2 separate regions of the Homo sapiens genome follow, and region 2 is linked to region 1. Evidence: promoter capture Hi-C in human tissues and cell types (Jung and others, 2019). All regions are on one chromosome and are shown on one strand. Each heading gives the region's core, a stretch centred on a gene start or on the middle of the fragment in contact. The rest is flanking DNA. Distances are from core to core; before and after follow the strand shown.

What was found. The method cuts DNA at HindIII sites, captures the fragments that hold promoters and counts their contacts. A contact is called where the count stands out against the background at its distance.
Region 2: a fragment that was not itself captured here is called in contact with the fragment with the promoter of IFI6 in region 1 in 2 of the 25 tissues and cell types used here (hippocampus and mesenchymal stem cells).

Annotation. Positions count from the first base shown.
Region 1 is chr1:27,668,000-27,674,711 of GRCh38, reverse strand. IFI6 (interferon alpha inducible protein 6) reads left to right here and starts at 2,520. Exons shown (of 5, transcript NM_002038.4): 1 at 2,520-2,589; 2 at 5,366-5,467; 3 at 6,177-6,254; 4 at 6,337-6,486. The coding sequence starts at 5,398. RefSeq lists enhancers at 2,149-2,488, 5,267-5,326. The HindIII fragment of the contact is 16,144 bases long and covers 1-6,485 here.
Region 2 is chr1:27,801,964-27,808,885 of GRCh38, reverse strand. All of the region lies in intron 4 of STX12 (syntaxin 12), which reads right to left. Among named protein-coding and RNA genes, the nearest start is that of PPP1R8, 25 kb to the left of the region's middle. RefSeq lists an enhancer at 1,172-1,695. The HindIII fragment of the contact is 3,705 bases long and covers 1,588-5,292 here.

The DNA of each region.
Region 1 (6,712 bases), core at 1,271-3,770:
GGATAACAATTCTGTAGGGAGGGAGAAAAAAGATTCTGTAGAAAGTTTCTGAAAGCCCACATAGGAGAATTACGGTTAGGATTCTTAGGATTCTGCAGTAAGGCTATGCTTACTGTGGTCCCTTTGGGAAAAGAGGCCCTGATGTGTCACTGGGCCCCAGTAGTGACTACACATCTCACCACTGGGTGCCAGGTAGCTATATATCTTAAGTTGGGTATTATCAGAAAGGTAGAGCAGCAGTTCCATATGTGATGGAAGCTGGGCGCATTGGCTCATGCCTGTAATCCCAGCACTTTAAGACCTCGAGGCAGAAGGATCACTTGGAGCCAGGAGTTGGAGACTAGCATGGGCAATGTAGTGAGACCTCCATCTCTAAAAGAAATATAAAAATTAGCTGGGTGTGGTGGCACATGCCTATAGTCCCAGATACTTGGGAGGGTGAGTTGGGAGGATTTCTTGAGCCTAGGAAGTCAAGGCTGCGGTAAGCTATGATTGTACCACTGCACTCCAGCCCCGGCAACAGAGTGAGACCCTGTCTCTAACAAACCAACCAACCAACCGACAAAACAACAAAGAGGCCAGGCACAGCAGCTCACACCTGTAATCTCAGCACTTTGGGAGGTAGAGGTGGGTGGATCACCTGAGGTCAGGAGTTCAAGACCAGCCTGGCCAACATGGCAAAACCCCATCTCTACTAAAAATACAAAAAACATTAGCCGGGCATGGTGGCGCGCACCTGTAATCCCAGCTACTTGGGAGGCTGAGGCAGGAGAATCGCTTGAACCCAGGAGGCAGAGGTTGCAGTAAACCAAGATCACACCACTGCACTCCAGCCTGGGGAACAGTGCAAGACTGTCTCAAAAACAAAAACAAAAACAACAAAAAACAAAGAACAAAACAAAACAAAAAATATATGATGGAAATGGTATATTCAAGGCTGAGCAAAGGGGTCTAAAAGGCTTGAGTAAATTAAATAAACAGGGAGCTCAGAGTCCTGTGGCGCCCAACTCTGTTTCTCTGGGTTTTCTCTTTGACCCATATATATGGCCTCATGGAGTGTTCCCAGCAACCAACAGATAATGGAGGAAAGGAGTCAAACTCAATTCACAGATAAGTCAGTATAATATTTTGGTATCAGCTGGAAACGGACCACTCTATTACAGCCCCATTTGGGGGTGGCACTGAATAATAGTGAATCCTCCCAGGGGGCAGAACTAGGAGCAGTATACCGTGTTGTTCCCTCTGTATGCAGAGAGAGAGAGAGAGAGATGGACTGAAGTACAGACATACACCAATTCCTAATAAGAGGCAAATGGCTTGGCTGGTTGGTCAAAGGCATGGATGGAACAAGATTGGAAGATTGGGAATAAGCAGGTGTGGGTTAGGGGCATAAGAATGAACTCTGAATGGGCATAAAGCACCTGGATCTCTATGTCTCATGTTAATGCTGACCAGAGATCATCTGCTGCAGAGGAGGCTCTACAGCCCAATGGCCAGGATGTCCCATCCTGTGGATGTCAGCCAGCCTCTAAACTTAGCCTCACTATTGCCTTGCAATAGACCTATGAGTGTCCAAGGTGGTAAGGATGGGGGTTAGAAATGAGTCCAACAACTTGGGCTCCCTCTCACCAAAACTGATCTGGCAATTGCCAAAATATAGCCAATCTGCCAGCAGCAGGTAGCAATATGGCAAAATTTCTCAATGAGAATAGCCAGCCATCTGGTGGCAGGTCAATTATTTCAGACCCCTTCCACTTGGGAGAAGGCAATGATTCATCCTTACTGGAATTTCTATGTTCTCCAAATAGAGGTTGCATTTCTGACCCATAGCACTTCAAGCATCACCATCCAAAGGCTTTAAAGAATGCTCAGTTCATTACCTAGGGCCAGGGGACCCATCTTGAAACTCAAGATCTATCATGATGGCCACATGAACACAGGCTTCACTGGTCTTACCATATGCCCATGACCCAGAAGCAGCCAGCCTGAGAGAACAATGGAACAAAGTGACTTAATTTCCAAAGTTCTGGGGGTTTATAAACAGCATATGGTATGTCACATGACTACTGTGGGATTGGAAAAAGATCATGTAAATAGAGCACTTTGCACAGACCCTGGCATGCAGCAAGTGCTCAATAAATGATAGGTGTTGTTTACTAATTGGACTGAATGGTGAAAGGCCTGTGTGCCCCAGGGGGAGCTGGTGATCAGGCTTCACTAAGCCCAGTATGGCCGTGGCTCTCATCATAGTGTGACATGCTTTGAATACCCTTAGCGGCTCCAAAAGTCCTCAGCTTGAAGTGCATTTTTCTGCCAGCAGGCAGCACACAAATGTTCCCGCTGGGCGGAGCTGGGAGAGAGGGGAAAATGAAACTCTGCAGAGTGCAGGAGCTGGGAGAGAGGGGAAAATGAAACTGCAGAGTGCAGAAATAGAAACTCCGACAGGGATTGGCTGCCTAGGGTGAGACGTGGGAGGATCCACAAGTGATGATAAAAAGCCAGCCTTCAGCCGGAGAACCGTTTACTCGCTGCTGTGCCCATCTATCAGCAGGCTCCGGGCTGAAGATTGCTTCTCTTCTCTCCTCCAAGGTAAACTCAGGAGCTATGAAGTGTGGGCATCAAGCTGCCACCCTCTGCCAGGCTGCCTGTCTGCCTGTAAATCTCATGTTCTGAGAGCCAGGAGGCCCCTTCTCCTGGGAGGCAGCACTCCTGGGTCCCTTTTAGTGCTCTGGGCTGGGACTTGTCTAAGAGGATGGGTTGGAGATTTTTAGGGAGATGGGATGCAAAACCCCAAGTGGCATGAGACCCAGCTTACAGGTGCAATATCAGCGATCTGTGGCCTTAACACTGTCACCTCTTGGAGCCTTAATTACTTCCTCTGTAAAAGGAAAGTTAAGTTGCCTTTGCTGCTCAAAGGACTGGATGATTTTAGAATCCCCTTTATTATAGGATCCAATGTGACAGTGAGTTCATCTTTAAGGATAGATGAAGCCATCTGGAGTGGTTGTTAAAAATGTGGGCTTGGTGGCCGGGCGTGGTGGTTCACGCCTGTAATCCCAGCACTTTGGGAGGCCGAGACCCACGGATCACGAGGTCAGGAGATCGAGACCATCCTGGCTAACACAGTGAAACCCTGTCTCTACTAAAAATACAAAAAAAATTAGCCGGGCTTGGTGGTGGGCGCCTGTAGTCTCAGCTACTCGGGAGGCTGAGGCAGGCAGGAGAATGGCATGAACCTGGGAGGTGGAGCTTGCAGTGAGATGAGATTGCGCCACTGCACTCCAGCCTGGGCGACAGAGAAAGACTCCATCTCAAAAAAAAAAAAAAAAAAATGTGGGCTTGGGTATTAGCCAATTGTGGGTTTAAACCCTGACTTTGCCATGACCTGGCTAGGCAGCCTTGGGAATATTACTTAACCTCTCTGAGCTTCAGTTTCCTTATCTATAACATGTGGTTGATAACAATGGTACCTACTTCGTGGTGTTGTTATAGGTACAAGTGGACTGCGTGCCATAAAGTGCTAAGTACTCAATACATGAGAGGAGTTTCTTGTTTTTCTTTTTAACTTAAGAAAATAGCATTGATCTGACAAAGATCATATTAGAGGTGAGTCTGAGGGCATATGCATTTTCCAGTTTTGTGGTATAAAGGAAAGAGCATAGGTTCATGAATTCTGACTGTCTTGAATGTGTACCCATGTTGCACAATTTGCTGTGTGACCTTTATCCCTTGTGATATTGTAAAATATATTTTTTCATCCCCCAGTTCCTGGCATACAACTCCTAAAATCCTTGGAATCTTCAAAGTGATAAATATCTTTTGAGTGATAACTGTCTAATAAGTTGACTGATGGCTGGCATTTCCTCTGGGGAGGGGAGAGGGGCTGAAGGTTAAGCTGATTACCAATGGGCAGTGATTTAATCAGTCATGCCTATGTAATGAAGCCTCCATAAAAACACAAAAGGACAGGGTTTGACAAGCTTCCAGATAGCCGAATACAAGGAGGTCTCCAGTGGGTGGTGCTTCTGGAGAGGAATGGAAACTCCATGCCCTTTCTCCCATACCTTGCCCTATGCATCTCTTCATCCGGAGCATTTGTAATATCCATAAGGAACCAGTAAATGTAGCTGGGTATGGTGGCTGATGCCTGTAATCTCAGCACTTTGGGAGGCTGAGGCAGGCAGATTGCGTGAGTTCAGGAGTTCAAGATCAGCCTGGGCAACATGGTGAAACCCCATCTCAAAAAAAAAAAAAAAAATTAGTTGGGCGTGGTGGTGCATACCTGTAGTCCCAGCTATGCTGGAGGCTGAGGTGGGAGGATCACTTGAGCCTGGGAGGCGAAGGTCTCAGTGAGCTGAGATGGGGCCACTGCACTCCAGCCTGAGCAATAGAGTGAGACCCTGTCTCAAAACAACAACAAGATCAATTTTTTTTTTTTAAAGAAAGAAACCAGTATATGTAAGTAAAGTGTTTCCCTGAGTTCTGTGAGCTGCTCTAGCAAATTAGTAAAACTGCAGGAGGGAATTGTGGGAACCCCAGTTTATAGTCAGTCAGAAACACAGGTAAAACAACCTAGGGCTTTCGATTGGCAGTCTGGGGGACTGAACCCTCAACATGTGGGATCGGCCACTATCTACCCATAGTGGTGTCAGAATTGAATTTGGGGACCCTCAGCTGGTGTTCACCAGAGGACTGATTGTTTGCTTGCTGGTGGGGAGAAACCCCCACACTTCTGCTGTCAGAAGCCTCTCGTACGGTGAGGGAAACTGAGTTTCTTTTTCCACACACCCTTCTGTGCTTTCTTTCTGAAAAAAAAATTAAGTTGATGTGAGGCCAACGTTTGGTGCCAGTAGATATTCAATGCATTGTAAGAATGAGTTTGTCTTAAAAATTTTTTTAAAGCAAATTCTATGCGTCAGGCACTGTTCAAAGTGCCGGGGATACAGCGTGGAACAGTTATTAAATTAACAAGTACCCTCTGAAATAGACTCTATTAATACCCCAATTTTAGAAATAAACAAACTGAAGCCCAGAGAAGCAAAGTACCCTAGTATCCTGCCCAAGGTCACTTGGGTACAAGGCCAGGAACAACCACAGTCATGATATTGACATCTGCGGAGCTTACCACGTGCCAAACACCGTGCGAATCCGCACAGAATCCGCACACCCACCGGTTGGGGCAGGGACATCTCTGCCACTGATGCGGAGAGGAAACGGATTCCCGAGGCTCCTGAGAGGGATCCTGGGTTCCATTCACCACACCTCGCTGCTTTTTACTGATTCAGTTGGAACTGGAAGGGAAAACAACGGAGCTGATGAGCTCCAAAAATGCTCCGGGGACCATCTCCCTCTCGCCCGTTCGCAGGTCTAGTGACGGAGCCCGCGCGCGGCGCCACCATGCGGCAGAAGGCGGTATCGCTTTTCTTGTGCTACCTGCTGCTCTTCACTTGCAGTGGGGTGGAGGCAGGTGAGAATGCGGGTAAGGATGCAGGTAAGGGGACAGGTAAGGGTGCAGGTAAGGATGCAAGTAAGGGTGCAGGTAAGGATGCGGGTAAGGATGCAGGTAAAGATGCGGGTAAGGATGCAGGTAAGGATGCGGGTAAGGATGCAGGTAAGGGTGCAGGTAAGGATGCGGGTAAGGATGCAGGTAAGGATGCGGGTAAGGATGCAGGTAAGGATGCAGGTAAGGGTGCGGGTAAGGATGCGGGTAAGGATGCAGGTAAGGATGTGGGTAAGGATGCAGGTAAGGGTGCAGGTAAGGGAACAGATAAGGGTGCAGGTAAGGGGACAAGTAAGGAGGCATATAAGGGTGCTGGGGGATGGGAGGAGTGTGGGATAAAGGAGAGAGTTTCAGGGTCCGGGGTGTAGAGGGTCTGGCGTGCTTCTGTAGAGACCCTGGCGTCCATTCCAATGGACAGCGCAGGGTTGGTGTCGCCAGAGTCCCAGATTCAAATCCCACTACTCTGTTCATTCCTCCATCCTACCGAAATTTACTCGATGCTAGTTCTGTGCCAGGCTCGGCGCCTAGGGGAAAGTCCCTTCCCCTCTGTGAGGCTCTCTGAGTAGGAGAGTGGTGGCCCCCGCCTCCAGGAGTGGTCCTGAGCATCAGACACAGAGTAGGGGACCCCTGTGTCCCACCCCAACACCCCCACTACGCTTTGTCTGCTCTCCTGCAGGTAAGAAAAAGTGCTCGGAGAGCTCGGACAGCGGCTCCGGGTTCTGGAAGGCCCTGACCTTCATGGCCGTCGGAGGAGGTGGGTCTGGAGGGCGAGGATCTCGGGCAGGCGGGGCGGGCCTCTGCCGCGGACGCTCCCTCACCTGCTCCTGTTCCTCCAGGACTCGCAGTCGCCGGGCTGCCCGCGCTGGGCTTCACCGGCGCCGGCATCGCGGCCAACTCGGTGGCTGCCTCGCTGATGAGCTGGTCTGCGATCCTGAATGGGGGCGGCGTGCCCGCCGGGGGGCTAGTGGCCACGCTGCAGAGCCTCGGTGAGTGCGGGGCCTGGGCCCCTGGTGGGACGTTCTTTACTATTATTTTCATCATACATCTGGGGAAACTGAGGCACTCAGGAATTAAGTAATTTACTCAAGTAATTAAGTAGTTTACCAGGAATTAAGTGATTCTTTATTTATTTATTTTGAGACAGAGTCTGGCTGTGTCACCCAGGCAGGCTGAAGTGCAGTGGTGTGATCTTGGCTCACTGCAACCTCTGCC
Region 2 (6,922 bases), core at 2,191-4,690, 130 kb before region 1:
TTCCAATGGTAATTTATCTAATACTATTGAATTAAGAAAGTTAGGCAAGCATATAGTGCTACTTTAAAAGAGAATTCACCAGGATTTTTGGCATTTGGTGAAAGACTAGCAATCGAATCTTTCAGGTGTTACTGTTTGATGAGGAAAAAGTATGCTTTATAATCAAGCTGTAAGAATAAATATCATTATTATTAAAAAATCAGTCTAATGGATGTATTACTTTTATAATTTAAAAACAGGCTGGGTGCGGTGGCTCATGCCTGTAATCCCAATCCCAGCACTTTGAGAGGCCGAGGTGGGCAGATCACTTTGAGGTCAGGAGTTTGTGACCAGCCTGGCCAACATGGTGAAACCCCGTCTCTACTAAAATACAAAAATTAGCCAGGCATGGTGGTGGGTGCCTGTAATCCCAGCTACTCGAGAGGCTAAGGCAGGAGAATTGCTTGAACCTAGAAGGCAGAGGTTGCAGTGAGCCAAGATCGTGCCACTGCACTACAGCCTGAGTGACAGAGTGAGACTCCCTCTCAGAATAAATAAATAAATAAATAAATAAATAAATAAATAAATAAATAAAAAACAAAGCAAAAATGGTAAAAATCAATGTATTTTCATTTTTAAAAAGCTTACCCTTTTTATAATAGCAATACAGGACAAGCAAAATGAAAAGAATTTCAAATTTCTATCCACTCAGAGGAACACTGTGGGTTTTTGGTTTGTTTTTTTCTTTTTACTTTATCTTTTTCCCCAGATCAAGAAATAACATTGCCAGAGTCCTAAAAGCCTACTCATGTGCCCTTCTCCAATCACAACTCCATCCCTCCCTTTTAAAGTATCTATTATCTTGACTTTGTGAAAATCATTTTCTTGCATTTTAAGAATAGTGAGCTATATTCTTATTCAATATCATTTTGCCTGTTTTTGAACTTTACATAAATGGAATTATACTGTTTATATTCTTTAGTGCTTTTTTTGAATCATTCCAGATTATGCCAGATCCATCTCTGATACTGAATGTAACTGTGGTTCAATCATTTTCTTTGCTGTATGATATTATAGTATATGAACATAACACAATTTATCCATTCTACAGTTGACAGACATCTGGATGTTTCCAATTTTTGACTACTACAAACAATGCTGCTATGCACATTCTTGTACATACATCCTGGTATAACACATACAGGTTTCTCTAGGGTAGAATTGCTGGATCACAAGGTCTGCATGTGTTCTGAAGATACAGCCAAAATGTTTTCCAAAGTAGTTGTTCTAACTTATACCACCGGCCAGATAAAAAAGTTCCTGTTGCATCATATCCATAATGACAACTCCCAGTGTTCACAGAATTTTAAACTTCTGCCCTCCTGGTGGGCATGAAATAGTATTTCATTGTTATTTTAATCTGTAATTTCACCATTACTAAAGAAGCTGAGTACCTTTTCATTTGTTTGACCATTACTCAAAATAATACTAACGTGTTTATTTGCTCCATGAGTGTAAATATCAACAGGACGGAGCAAAAGCAATGGTGGGGGACTGGTGGCGGGGAAGTGGGGATGGTTAATGGGCACAAAAAATAGGAAGAATGAATAGGACCTAGTATTTGATAGCACAAATGGGTGACTATCGTCAATAATAATTTAATTATATATTCAAAAATAACTAAAAGAGTATAATTGAATTGTCTGTAACATAAAGGATAAATGCTTGAGGGGATAGACACCCCATTTACCATGGTGTAATTATTACACATTACATGACTATATGAAAGTATCTCATGTACCTCATAAATATATACACCTACCATGTGCCCACAAAAATTAAAAATTAAAAAAAGGCAATGGTAGTGATATGGTTTGGCTCTATGTCCCCACTCAAATCTCGTCTCGAATTGTAATCCCAACGTGCGAAGGGAGGGACCTGGTGGGAAGTGATTGGATCATGGGGGTGTTAGTGTTCACGTGTTAGTGAGGGAGTTCTCATGAGATCCGGTTGTTTGGTAAGTGTCTGGTATTTCCCCTGCACTCTCTTTCTCTTTCTCCTGCCACCATGTAAGACATGCCTTGCCTCCCCTTAGCTTTCTACCATGGTTGTAAGTTTCCTGAGGCCTATCCAGCCACGCAGAACTGTGAGTCAATTAAACCTCTTTTATTTATAAAGTATCCAGTCTCAGGTAGTATCTTTATAGCAGTGTGAAAATGGACTAATACAGATAGATAAAATGGCTGAAGGCAGTGGCACCGAATTGCACTAGTATTATTGTATTCTTCATCACCACACACTCACCGTATTTTAAAAGCCAATGTATTCTTGAAGCCATACAAATTATTAATTAAACCTTGACCCCTCAATACATATCTTTCTACTATTCTGTATTGTGAAATGGGAAGTGCACATAAAGTACTTCTGCTGCATAAAGAAATACAATGTCTGTCTCTAGGAAAAGCACTTGTGTAATGGAACTGCAGGCTGAACTAGCCACTTTTTTTAGGGAATACCATTTTTACTTATTCAATATAGTTTTATAAGAACTTACTAAAAACTTATTTAAAAGCTTTAAAACTTTCATAAACGTATACATATAAACTTTTCAGATGGGTATTTGGCAGACAACTTGTTGAAAAGAAGTATGAGCCTGTCACTTCAAGGAAAACAACAGAGGGTGTTTGTTGCCAATGACAAAAATGTAGCTTTCAAGTAAAAATAAAAATAAAATTTCGGAAGACTTGTATCTACCATTGTAAGAGTTTCCCAATATTTAAATACTTTTCTGGTGAAACTGATGGAAATATGTATTTTTTTATATTGTAAAATGAAATGTATCGACATTTGGAAGAGCTGCATAACTCAGGGAACCAATACTATCCAAATGATAAATACATGATGCTATAAAAATCATGCATGGATAAAAGATCCAATCAAAGTATAATATAGACCAACAGATGTTAATGTAACAGAGTATGAAGTCATTATAATGGTTTTAGATTGTACAATGCAACTAACTTTTGTCAAGTTTTGATGTAGTATCAAAGAAGAGTATCAACAAGGTTATAAAAATATTCCTTTTCCAATTGTATATTTCTGCTAGCTTGGATTTTCTTCAGATACTTCAACCAGAACAATCTATCATAATAGACTGAATACAGAAGCAGATATAATCCTAGACGAAAAAAGCTGAGAGAGTTCATCACCACTACACCTGCCTCACAAGAAGTGCTAAAGGGAGTTCTTCAAGCTGAATGAAAAGCATAATAATTAGTAACATGAAAACATATGAAAGTATAACATTCACTGGTAAAAGTAAGTAAATAGTCAAATTCAGAATATTCTAATACTGTAATGGTGTTATATAAATCATTTACATCTTTAGTATGGAGGTTAAAAAACAAAAGCAGCTATGAAAATCTAGCTGCCTTCTGGTAAGCCAGACATTAAAATAAAAAAAATTTGCAAAAATGAAAATAATGCTACTCTGCCCACTAATTTTTTTTCTTGGAAACACAATTTTTTAAAATGAAAAATCTAATTTAATTCCTTCTTTCCCCATGTGCATAAAAAATCTAATTTATATTCATGTTAATATGTAATAAGTGTATTATTTGTAAATGAATAAACAAACATCTAAAATTTTTCTCAGTTTTAATTTCTAATACAGTATACATCAATAGATATGACTCATATAAACAAAACTTCTTTGGGGTCTGATATGGTTTGGCTCTGTGTCCCCACCCAAATCTCACCTTGAATTGTAATAATCCCCACGTGTCAAGGGCGAGACCAGATGGACAAAACTGAAGCATGGGGACAGTTTTCCCCTTGTTGTTCTCGTGATAGTGACTGAGTTCTCACAACATCTGATGGTTTTATAAGGGGCTTTCCCCTTCTCTCCGCACTCATTCTCTCTCCTGCGGTCCTGTGAAGAGGTGTCTTCTACCATGACTGTAAGTTTCCTGAGGCCTCCCAGACATGTGGAAATGTGAGTCAACAAAACCCCTTTCCTATATAAATTAAATACTTCAATATAAATTAAAGTAAATTACCCAGTCTCTGGCAGTTCTTTCTTCCTTTTTTTTTTTTTGAGATGGAGTCTCACTCTGTTGCCCAGGCTGGAGTGCAGCGGTGCGGTCTCAGCTCATGGCAATCTCCGCCTCCCGGGTTGAAGCGAGTCTCCTGCCTCAGCGTCCTGAGTAGCTGGGATTATAGGCACCTGCCACCATGCCCGGCTAATTTTTTATATTTTTAGTAGCGATGGGGTTTCACCATGTTGGCCAGGCTGGTCTTGAACTCCTGACCCTGTGATCTGCCCGCCTCAGCCTCCCAAAGTGCTGGGATTACAGGCGTGAGCCACCACGCCCAGCTTCGGGCAGTTCTTTATAGCAGAGTGAGAACAGACTAATACAGGTCCTTAGTAATTTTTTTTTTTTTTAAGATTCAAGAAGATAACTTAATGATATTTTTTTTTGAGACGGAATTTCACTCTTTTTGCCCAGGCTGGAGTGCAATGGTGCAATCTCGGCTCACTGCAACCTCCACCTCCCAGGTTCAAGTGATTCTCCTGCCTCAGCCTCCCAAGTAGCTGGGATTACAGGCATGCGCCACCATGCGCGGCTAATTTTGTATTTTTTAATAGAGACAGGGTTTCTCCATGTTGGCCAGGCTGGTCTTGAACTCCTGACCTCAGGTGATCCACCCGCCTCGGCCTCCCAAAGTGCTGGGATTACAGGCATGAGCCACTGCGCCCGGCCACAGAATTTAATGATTTTTAAGAGTGTAATGGGTTCCTGAGATTAAAAAGTTTGACAACTTTTGTTCTATTGAGTTGTATCTTTCTTTTTCATATTGATTCATGGGAATTCTGGGGTTTTTTTTGTTTTGTTTTTTGTTTTTTGAGATACAATCTTGTTGTGTCGCCCAGGCTGGAGCACAGGGGCACAATCTCAGCTCACTGCAACCTCTGTCTCCCTGGTTCAAGCGATTCTCCTGCCTCAGCCTCCAGAGTAGCTGGGATTACAGGCACGCGCTACCACGCCCAGCTAATTTTGTATTTTTAGTAGAGACAGGGTTTCACCATGTTGGCCAGGCTGGTCTTGAACTCCTGACCTCGTGATCTGCCCACCTTGGCCTCCCAAAGTGCTGGGATTACAGGTGTGAGCCACCACGCCTGGCCGAATTCTTTATATATTCTAAATGCTAGTCCTTTGCTATTAAATATATATAGCAATGTCTTCTCCCTGTGACTAGTCTTTTCACATCTTTACCACTTTTTTTGTTCTTCATTTCTTTCTGCTTTTCAGACTTTCCATCTGAGATCACTTTCCTTCCATCTGAAATACATTATTTAGAATTTCCTTCAATAAGATGTGCTGACAGAAAACTCTCTTTTGATTGAAAATGTCTTTAATTAGCCCTCATTCTGACATATATTTTCACTGGGTTTAGAATCCTAGGTAGGCAGTTATTGTCCTTCATCAACATTCAAGATAGCACTCTACTGGCTTCCACTGTTGTTGAGAAGTCAACTGTCAATCTAACTATTGTATCTTTGAAGGTATTCTAATGTTTCTCTAGCTATCTTTATGATTTTTCTCTTTGTCTCTGGTCTGAAGTTTGTCTTTGATGTATCTAGATTAGAGATTTTATTTATCCTGCTTGGGATTTGTTAGGCTTCTTGAAACTGCAGGCTAGTGTTTTTAATCAGTTCTAGAATATTATCACTCATTATTTCTTCAAATATCACCTCTGTTCTATGTTTGCCCTATTCTCACTCTATAACTCCAGTTAAAACTACGTTAGATCTTTTCTCTCCATTCTCCATTTTTCATAATCTTTCTTCCGTATTTAACCTCTTAACCCCCTATGCTACATGCTGGATAATATATTCTAACCAATTTTTTAGTTAAACCACCCATCCACTAAGTTTTTAAATTTCTATATTATATCTTTCCATTTTAGAAATTCTTTTGACACTTTTTCAAATCTTTGTGTAGTTTCCTGCAGAGGTTTTCAGCCTTTTATGTCTTTAAACACAATAAGTATAGTTGTCTTATAATTCTAATATAAAAAGTCTTTGTAGGTATATTTCACTTCATTGTTGTTTCTACTAATTCTTGTTCAGAGTAATTTGTTTCTTTGCACACATGGTTATTTTTAGTGACTGGTACTTACTGCCCTAGAAAAATTATTTGAGAGTATTATTTCAGGGCTAGGATAAAGGTGTCTTTCTACAGAAGGAATTTGTGTTTGCTTCTATCCCACACATAGGTGGCTCTCCCAGTCCAGGACCACTGAACCATTCAGGTAGGATGAATTTGAGCAGAAAATCTGCCTGAAGAAGGTTACTTTGTGGTAACCTTGTCTAGATTTCTCCTCCCTCCTGCCCTCCTCCTCCATCTGCTCAGTTCAGTGCTAATGCAATCTTTCTGTAATCTGCCGGGGGATAGAAGAGCTTACTTTTGACTTAATGTTCTAAGGATATAGTCTCTTAGGGCCCAGTTTAATTTGAGTTGTACCTTCTTTTATATTCTCTCTCTTGCATGGACCTTTGGCTTTGACTTTTATCCTCCCCATGCCATGAGGATATCAAAACTGAAGTTCAAGTTTGCCTTCAGTAAAGACATTCAATGCAAAAGCAGTTTCAGTATTCTGCTGACCTCTCAGGCTTTACCTTAATATTTTCATAATCTTTGATACTTTTGAGAAGTTGGATTTTTAAAATCCAGTATTTGAAAATCCTTTTCAAAAACAGAGGGCTAGTCCAAATAAACTAGCCTGTTATATTCCAGGAAACAGATTCATTATTTTTATTTTCAAGTTTTTAACGTTAAAACCAATATATCAAAATGAAAAAGAAAATTAGACATAGTTCTTCCTCCTATATCTCTTAACCTTCATTCAGATTCCTTTCTAGGCTTTGATCACATGCATA